Regions from separate parts of the Homo sapiens genome. Here all the other regions are linked to region 1. Evidence: promoter capture Hi-C in human tissues and cell types (Jung and others, 2019). All regions are on one chromosome and are shown on one strand. Each heading gives the region's core, a stretch centred on a gene start or on the middle of the fragment in contact. The rest is flanking DNA. Distances are from core to core; before and after follow the strand shown. Region 1 holds the start of UBC (ubiquitin C). Region 2 overlaps NCOR2 (nuclear receptor corepressor 2). Region 3 overlaps ZNF664-RFLNA (ZNF664-RFLNA readthrough).

Region 1 (2,700 bases), core at 201-2,700:
TGTTCATAACTTAAAACAAGAATGCAGCCTTTTCCTAATGGCAAAATATTTTTCAGTTGGTAGCCTCTTTTTCTCTTTTTTTTGAAGCTTTTAAGGGTAGAAATCAAAATAGCCTCCCTACCTCCAATACATTTGTAGAAACAGGGACTATTTGTAGAAGAGTCCAGAAGGAACAGTGGCTGGGAAATTGAGGGCATGAGGGAGACTTTTCACTGTACACTTTAAAAAGACACATTTAAAAAATCTCACCATGTTCGTATATTTTAAAACATTTAAAAAATATACTGAAGAAATGACACGTAGGGATCACAAAATAGGTTGTGGTAAAAATTTAAAAAGCTGGCTGGTGATGCTTTTCTCCCCACTTCTTTTACCAAAATAGAATTGCCCTGTAGAATTACATTTCATATTTGACACCCTACCCTGCACTGAAATAAGGTTGGGATTCTATTCCTGTCTTTTAAAATCTCCGGTTTAAATGGGTCCGATTATTGAATGGATCCTGCTTACAATAATCGTACCCATTGAAACCAGAGAAATTTCCATGCCTCCCTGTTGGCATCAAGTAGGACCTTTCCATACCTGGCCCTCAGAATGTACAGGAAGGTGGAAGAACAGTCTAGAAGGATGTCGTTCGCTCAGCCTTGCGTTCCAGCTAAAATAAAACTGTGTGGGGTTTCCGCCTCTTTTTTCCAAATTTAACCTGGACACCCAGCTCCTCTGCAGTGTCTCCCCTGGAAAGTTCTCGAGCGTTCCCCAGCTTTAGGGCCACGCCCGCCCTGAGATCTGCCGAGTCATTGTCCTTGTCCCGCGGCCCCGGGAGCCCCCCGCGACCGGCCTGGGAGGCTCAGGGAGGTTGAAGGGGGCTGAGCAAAGGAAGCCCCGTCATTACCTCAAATGTGACCCAAAAATAAAGACCCGTCCATCTCGCAGGGTGGGCCAGGGCGGGTCAGGAGGGAGGGGAGGGAGACCCCGACTCTGCAGAAGGCGCTCGCTGCGTGCCCCACGTCCGCCGAACGCGGGGTTCGCGACCCGAGGGGACCGCGGGGGCTGAGGGGAGGGGCCGCGGAGCCGCGGCTAAGGAACGCGGGCCGCCCACCCGCTCCCGGTGCAGCGGCCTCCGCGCCGGGTTTTGGCGCCTCCCGCGGGCGCCCCCCTCCTCACGGCGAGCGCTGCCACGTCAGACGAAGGGCGCAGCGAGCGTCCTGATCCTTCCGCCCGGACGCTCAGGACAGCGGCCCGCTGCTCATAAGACTCGGCCTTAGAACCCCAGTATCAGCAGAAGGACATTTTAGGACGGGACTTGGGTGACTCTAGGGCACTGGTTTTCTTTCCAGAGAGCGGAACAGGCGAGGAAAAGTAGTCCCTTCTCGGCGATTCTGCGGAGGGATCTCCGTGGGGCGGTGAACGCCGATGATTATATAAGGACGCGCCGGGTGTGGCACAGCTAGTTCCGTCGCAGCCGGGATTTGGGTCGCAGTTCTTGTTTGTGGATCGCTGTGATCGTCACTTGGTGAGTAGCGGGCTGCTGGGCTGGCCGGGGCTTTCGTGGCCGCCGGGCCGCTCGGTGGGACGGAGGCGTGTGGAGAGACCGCCAAGGGCTGTAGTCTGGGTCCGCGAGCAAGGTTGCCCTGAACTGGGGGTTGGGGGGAGCGCAGCAAAATGGCGGCTGTTCCCGAGTCTTGAATGGAAGACGCTTGTGAGGCGGGCTGTGAGGTCGTTGAAACAAGGTGGGGGGCATGGTGGGCGGCAAGAACCCAAGGTCTTGAGGCCTTCGCTAATGCGGGAAAGCTCTTATTCGGGTGAGATGGGCTGGGGCACCATCTGGGGACCCTGACGTGAAGTTTGTCACTGACTGGAGAACTCGGTTTGTCGTCTGTTGCGGGGGCGGCAGTTATGGCGGTGCCGTTGGGCAGTGCACCCGTACCTTTGGGAGCGCGCGCCCTCGTCGTGTCGTGACGTCACCCGTTCTGTTGGCTTATAATGCAGGGTGGGGCCACCTGCCGGTAGGTGTGCGGTAGGCTTTTCTCCGTCGCAGGACGCAGGGTTCGGGCCTAGGGTAGGCTCTCCTGAATCGACAGGCGCCGGACCTCTGGTGAGGGGAGGGATAAGTGAGGCGTCAGTTTCTCTGGTCGGTTTTATGTACCTATCTTCTTAAGTAGCTGAAGCTCCGGTTTTGAACTATGCGCTCGGGGTTGGCGAGTGTGTTTTGTGAAGTTTTTTAGGCACCTTTTGAAATGTAATCATTTGGGTCAATATGTAATTTTCAGTGTTAGACTAGTAAATTGTCCGCTAAATTCTGGCCGTTTTTGGCTTTTTTGTTAGACAATGCAGATCTTCGTGAAGACTCTGACTGGTAAGACCATCACCCTCGAGGTTGAGCCCAGTGACACCATCGAGAATGTCAAGGCAAAGATCCAAGATAAGGAAGGCATCCCTCCTGACCAGCAGAGGCTGATCTTTGCTGGAAAACAGCTGGAAGATGGGCGCACCCTGTCTGACTACAACATCCAGAAAGAGTCCACCCTGCACCTGGTGCTCCGTCTCAGAGGTGGGATGCAAATCTTCGTGAAGACACTCACTGGCAAGACCATCACCCTTGAGGTCGAGCCCAGTGACACCATCGAGAACGTCAAAGCAAAGATCCAGGACAAGGAAGGCATTCCTCCTGACCAGCAGAGGTTGATCTTTGCCGGAAAG
Region 2 (2,700 bases), core at 55-2,554, 520 kb after region 1:
TACAGTAGGCACTCAGAAATGGCAGGCCGCTAGCTTAGGGCGCAGTCTCCAGACCCTGCTCCCTAGGTTTGGGTCCCAGCTGTGCCTCCTGCAGAGTCTGACCCTGAGCAGGTACCTACACTTTGGGGCCTCGGCCCCCGCCACCTCTGTCTTCGCCCCGGCGATGGGGGTCGGAGGTAAGTCACCTGCCAAGCAAATGTACAGTGACAACTGGAGGAACTTCCATGGTGCTGGGGGCCACCAGTCAGAGGGCTACCCCGAGGAAGGGGCCGACACCCAGAGCACGAAATAATAGTGAATATCACCCAGTAACACCGTGGAGCCCATCCTGCGTGCTGGGCACTGCTGGAAGCTTTGTGTGTATGAAGTCACTTTATCTCTACCAACCTGACTAGGAGGCAGGTGCTGTTAATACTTCTGTTATTCAAATGAGGAAACCGAGGCCTAGAGAGGCTTAGTGAGCAGCCTAGGGTCACACAGCTGTGAAGTGGTAGAGCTGGGATTTGAACCCAGGCACTCTACTTGCAGAGTAGGAATGGGGTTGGCATGAGAGCTGAACAGGTTAGTCCATGGGCCAACCTGTTGACCAGGTAACAAAGGCAGGACAGGCATGTGCAAAGGCCCCATGGCAGGGGCAGTGTGGCCCCATGAGAAGTGGTTGAATCCCAGAAGGTAGAGGGGCCACCGGGAGCCTGGCCTTGCCAGCATGGGATGGAGTGTAGCTATTACTCTAGAGCGTGGGAGGCCACTGGGGAGGGGCTGGGGACATGATGGCCATAGGGTTTCTGGTGGGCAAGTGAGCAACCTCCCTTCTTGTGTGCATGCGGCTGTGGCTGCCTGCCCTGGGGCTTGTGCTGCCTGAGGACCGAGAATGTTCAGGAGGCAGCTTCCCCAGGAACCGGGCAGCTCCGGGGAGCTGGCCGCCTGCCCTCGGGCCCAGCGCCAAGTGGGGAAGGAGGGGCAGGGCAGGAGCAGGGCTGGGATGAGGGACTCGGTTCCCCTGGGAAAGGTCAGCCTGGCCTGGCTTGGAAGCCTGACCCAGCTGTGCGAGAGGCCCGAGGCTCTGCTGGCAGCTCCTCCAGGCCCCAGCCCTCTTCTCTGGCGGGCAGAGAACCTGCTGTGGAGGGGGTTGGGAGGCTCCCGGTCACACCATTGTCACACCATTCTAGACCGGGAGTTGGCTCTGGCCCGCCTCCGGGCTGCCAGTCCTTCCCAATCTCCAGGGAGCGGCCAACAGTGGGAGGATGTGCAAGACCAGGCCCTGGTGGCTCCCAGTAAGCCCGGGCAGACCCCAGAGGCCTCCCCCAGGACTCCAGCTGCCTTGTCTAGTGGCCTTGCCACTTCTCACAGGAGCGAGGCAGGAACCACCCATTGCTGTGCACATGGGCTGGCCTGACGGGCTTTTATAGATGAAGCGTCTAAGGCATGGGAAGGGGAGGGGTGAGCCCCCAGCCTGGAGCCTGGAGAGCAGGACCTCCTCCACTACATGTCCACTGGGAAAGCCTTGGGCTGTGCCCACCATGGGCCCCCCAAAAGAGGAGCGCCTGTGTGCTCTGCCGCACAAAGCTGCCAGAGCTTACAGTGGGGTGGGCGGGCCGGTAGGCAGTGCTGCTGCTCCTGGGTTTGGGTCTGCCCGGCTACTTCCTGGTGCAGCTGTCCGTCAGGGCCCAGCAGGAGGCGACACTCGAGCTGTGTGACTCAGGAGGGGTGGTATACCAGGCAGGGACGGTGCGGTGCCTCGGGGCTCGCGTCCAAGGAGACTGTCACCACGTGTGGTCTGGAGAGAGACCACTAGGGAGGGTGCATGTCTGGGGCTGGTTGGCCTCCCGGCCGGATATGTGAGAAACAGTCTGTTGTGATGGTTTGGAGGGAGGAAAAAATTGGGGTTTCTGCAGGAACTTGGGGTACAGCCAGACACAGGGGCAGGGTCTGGACCACACTCTTGCTCCTGTCAGCACCCTTGAAGATGAAATCAGGCATCAACAAGCCCCCCTTCCCTCCTAGGGGAGACCCATGAATCCGCATCCACATGGCTCCTGACTCAGGGAAGGAGCACCTGGCGGTCGATGCGGTAGTAATGATGCCTGTCGTCACGTGGCGTGGCTGGTGCTCACGAACAAGGCAGGCCCTCCACACGCGTGTGTACACACGCACGCATACACACGACTTCTGCTTTGCACAGGAGAAGACCAAGGCCAGAGGGAGAGCCAGTGCTCACCCAGCCCACTGCGGTGGACACAGGGCATGGGGTGGTCTGTCTGACCCCCCAGGCTGGCTTCCAACTTTGCTCTGCTCTGTAGGAAAACGTGACATTGAAAGGTGTAACGTGGCACTTCCGGAAATGGTAGGCGAGACAGCGCCAGGTCGTATGCAGGTGACTTTATTTCATCTTAATGAGTCTGGGTTTTTTTGAGAGCTGGGAGAAGACGTAGCTTTTTCACATCGTACCTATGATTTACGGGTATAATTGCTGATGCGGAGGCTAAGGCAGATAGCGAGGCTGATTTTTGAAAGAGTAGATGGAGAGAAAAGAGTGGGGAGGTGCAAGTCCAGGTGTGATGTTATCCAGCCAACATCCTGATAGGATTTCAGGATGGCAGGAGTTCGGGAAGTCCTGACAAGACACGCAGGAGTGCCCGGCCTGTCAAGGGTGTCAATGCGGAGGCACCGTCCCTGTGGAACCCCCCCCCCGCCAGGGCT
Region 3 (2,830 bases), core at 148-2,647, 870 kb after region 1:
AGGAGACCGAAAGGAAACACAGAGATCTAAAGCTTGGGAGGAGAGCTGAATCATTTGACAGCAGCTTCCCCCAGAGCAGCGGTCACGATAATTTTATGATGTTATATCCAGCACCAAGCTCATCATTGCCAGAGGACAGACCCCGCGACAGCAGAGATTTTTGTTTCCAAAGAAAAGTTCATTTCTCTTCTCACAGCAGGGCCTGGCTTTAAATATTTGTTGAGTTAATTTTGCTCTTCTCCTAATACTTAAGTTTCATTAAGGAGCTGAGGTACCTACAATAAAAATATGAAGGAACACAGGAGAGCTGTTCCTTTGTCTTCTCCTTGGGAAGTCTGGGGCTTCTGCTTCTGGTGCGGTGCTGTCATCCCTAGCAGCTCCATCGTGCATTTGGTGGCCTCTCTTTTTCCTCTTTTTTTTTTTTTTTTGAGATGGAGTCTCACTCTGTTGCCCAGGCTGGAGTGCAGTGGCGCAATCTCGGCTCACTGCAAGCTCCGCCTCCCAAGTTCAAGTGATTCTCCTGCCTCCGCGTCCCAAGTACCTGGGATTACAGGTTCCTGCTGCCACACCCAGCTATTTTTTGTATTTTTAGTAGAGACGGGGTTTTGCCATGTTGCCCAGGCTGGTCTCGAACTCCTGACCTCAGGTGATCTGCCTACCTTGGCTTCCCAAAGTGCTGAGATTACAGGCATGAGCCACTGTGCCCGGCCTCGGTGGCCTCTCTTGACCAGTGATAAACAGGTGGCAGCAAAAGACAGGGAGAGGCCAGACTTGTGCAAACGGGCCCAGTGGAAGCACCTCTAGTGCCTAAGGCATGCATGCACTCTGTTCCTCTAATTTGGGGATGGAATCCAAAATCCCGGCCTACCTCAGTGGTTCTCAACCAGGGTAGGGGCTCCCTGACCCACGTCCCAGGAAACAAACAGCATCACTAAGAGACCCTCTGCTCACCCCGAGTGGCTTCCACACGTCACTCTCCTGAGCAGCCACGCAGGGTACTGGGCAGAGGAAGGACAAGCAGGGTAGGGGAGAGGCCCTGGCTCATCCCGCGTTGCTGGAAGGGGGCTCGTCCTTCGCCTGGTGCAGGGGTCCCTGCTTAGGGATGCAGGAACCCCTGCCAGTCTCTAGGCCAGGAGAAATGCTTGTGACAGGGCAAACATTCCGTCTACTGGTGCTCCTGGAACCTATCCTCATATTCAACGCCACAGAGATACAGTTTTCTGCTGAAAGAGTTCCGACTCAGGGTAAGACAGAATTTGGGATTAATAAGGTGACCCTAGAACACCTCCCATAGAAGAGAGATCTGTGTGGGTGGCTTCCGGTCCTCACATGGGAGAAAGACTCCATTCAACTTGAGTCCATCAGATCAACATTTCTCCGCAATCATTCATGATTAAAACAAGATAATAAAAAGAAAGGCAGAAGAAAGAATTAAAGATATTCCCTAGTGATTGTTCAATTTTACTGGTGTGCTGATGGAAATGGTGTAATCTCATTGCTGCAAGAAGCCGTATAGTTGGGGAAAGCCTCTTTTATGAATGTCAAGCATCCCTCCTATCTGGGGGAACCCCCCATTCCGTGGGGCTTGCTGTGAGGCAGGGACCCACCACCCGCTACGGCCAACGAAGGCTGAGGTACAGATAACCCAGCCCCGGGAGCTGTGGCGTAGGCATGTGGCCTCAGCCTGGAACCTGGTACCTGTGAATGTGACCTTATCTGCAAGAAGGACTTTGCAGATGTAATCAAGTTCAGATGAGGTCATACTGGATTAGGGTGTGCCCTAAATCCAGTATGACTGGTGTCCTTCTAAGAAGAGGGAAATCTGGACACAGAGACACACGCAGAAGGAAGATGGCCACATGGAGATGGAGGCAGAGATAGGAGTGAAACATCCACAAGCCCACTGAAGCTGAGGGTTGCCGCGGCCCCCGGAAGCTGAGAGGCACAAAACACATTCCTCCCTAGGGCCTCAGTGGGTACGTGCCCCTGTGGCCTTCTGGCCTCCAGAATTGTGAGGGTGAACTTCTGCTATTATAAGACACCTGGCACGTGGGCTTTGATATGGCAACTACAGGGCGCTAACACAGATGCCCACACTAAGGACCTGACCCTTGAGGCTGTGACACAGAGATCCAGTGATGGGGAGTTTCCCAGCAGCAGGACAGCACCAAAGGCCCATCAGGACAGCAAGTGTCAGAGGCTGCAGGGCCCCAGAGACCAGGACAGATTGCCCAGGGCAGTGGCCAATGTCTGATAATGGCAGGACTTATGGCGGCGTCCACATCAGCCTGTACCTGTGACCCTTGACCTGCCTAGCTGCTCTTGGTCTTACCGGTTTTACAAGCCTGACTCTCAGTCGGGCGCAGTGGCTCACACCTGTAATCCCGGCACTTTGGGAGGCCAAAGGAGGCAGATCACTTGAGGCCAGGAGTTTGAGACCAGCCTGGCCAACATGGTGAAACCCCGTCTCTACTAAAAATACAAAAAAATTAGCTGGGCATGGTGGTGGGCGCCTGTAATTGCAGCTATTTGGGAGGCTGAGGCAGGAGAATCTCTTGAACGCAGGAGGCAGAGGTTGCAGTGAGCCGAGATCATGCCACTGCATGCCAGCATGGGTGACAGAGCGAGACTCCATCTCAAAAACAAATAGAAAAAAAATGATAAAATAAAACCTGATTCTCCATTCCAAACGCTGCCCAATATCCTTCTAGAAAGGTCCTATTCTGCTCAAGTTAGCCAGTTAATTTCTACTGTTTGCAAGCAAAATCCCTGACTGGTATAAAGCCTCATCCAAATAATTCAGAATACATTATCTATGCATACAAAAGGC

Evidence for each region. The method cuts DNA at HindIII sites, captures the fragments that hold promoters and counts their contacts. A contact is called where the count stands out against the background at its distance.
Region 2: a fragment that was not itself captured here is called in contact with the fragment with the promoter of UBC in region 1 in 1 of the 25 tissues and cell types used here (IMR-90 fibroblasts).
Region 3: a contact is called between a fragment that was not itself captured here and the fragment with the promoter of UBC in region 1, in 1 of the 25 tissues and cell types used here (hippocampus).

What each region holds. Positions count from the first base shown.
Region 1 is chr12:124,913,400-124,916,099 of GRCh38, reverse strand. UBC (ubiquitin C) reads left to right here and starts at 1,450. Exons shown (of 2, transcript NM_021009.7): 1 at 1,450-1,513; 2 at 2,326-2,700. The coding sequence starts at 2,329. MIR5188 (microRNA 5188) reads right to left here and starts at 553; the gene lies at 441-553. RefSeq lists enhancers at 1-97, 1,422-1,871, 1,196-2,153 and a silencer at 872-1,211. The HindIII fragment of the contact is 8,951 bases long and covers 1-2,700 here.
Region 2 is chr12:124,391,494-124,394,193 of GRCh38, reverse strand. The region is part of intron 18 of NCOR2 (nuclear receptor corepressor 2); the gene reads left to right. Among named protein-coding and RNA genes, the nearest start is that of MIR6880, 56 kb to the right of the region's middle. RefSeq lists an enhancer at 1,552-2,241. The HindIII fragment of the contact is 4,462 bases long and covers 1-2,700 here.
Region 3 is chr12:124,041,035-124,043,864 of GRCh38, reverse strand. All of the region lies in intron 2 of ZNF664-RFLNA (ZNF664-RFLNA readthrough), which reads right to left. Among named protein-coding and RNA genes, the nearest start is that of ZNF664-RFLNA, 69 kb to the right of the region's middle. The HindIII fragment of the contact is 4,891 bases long and covers 1-2,830 here.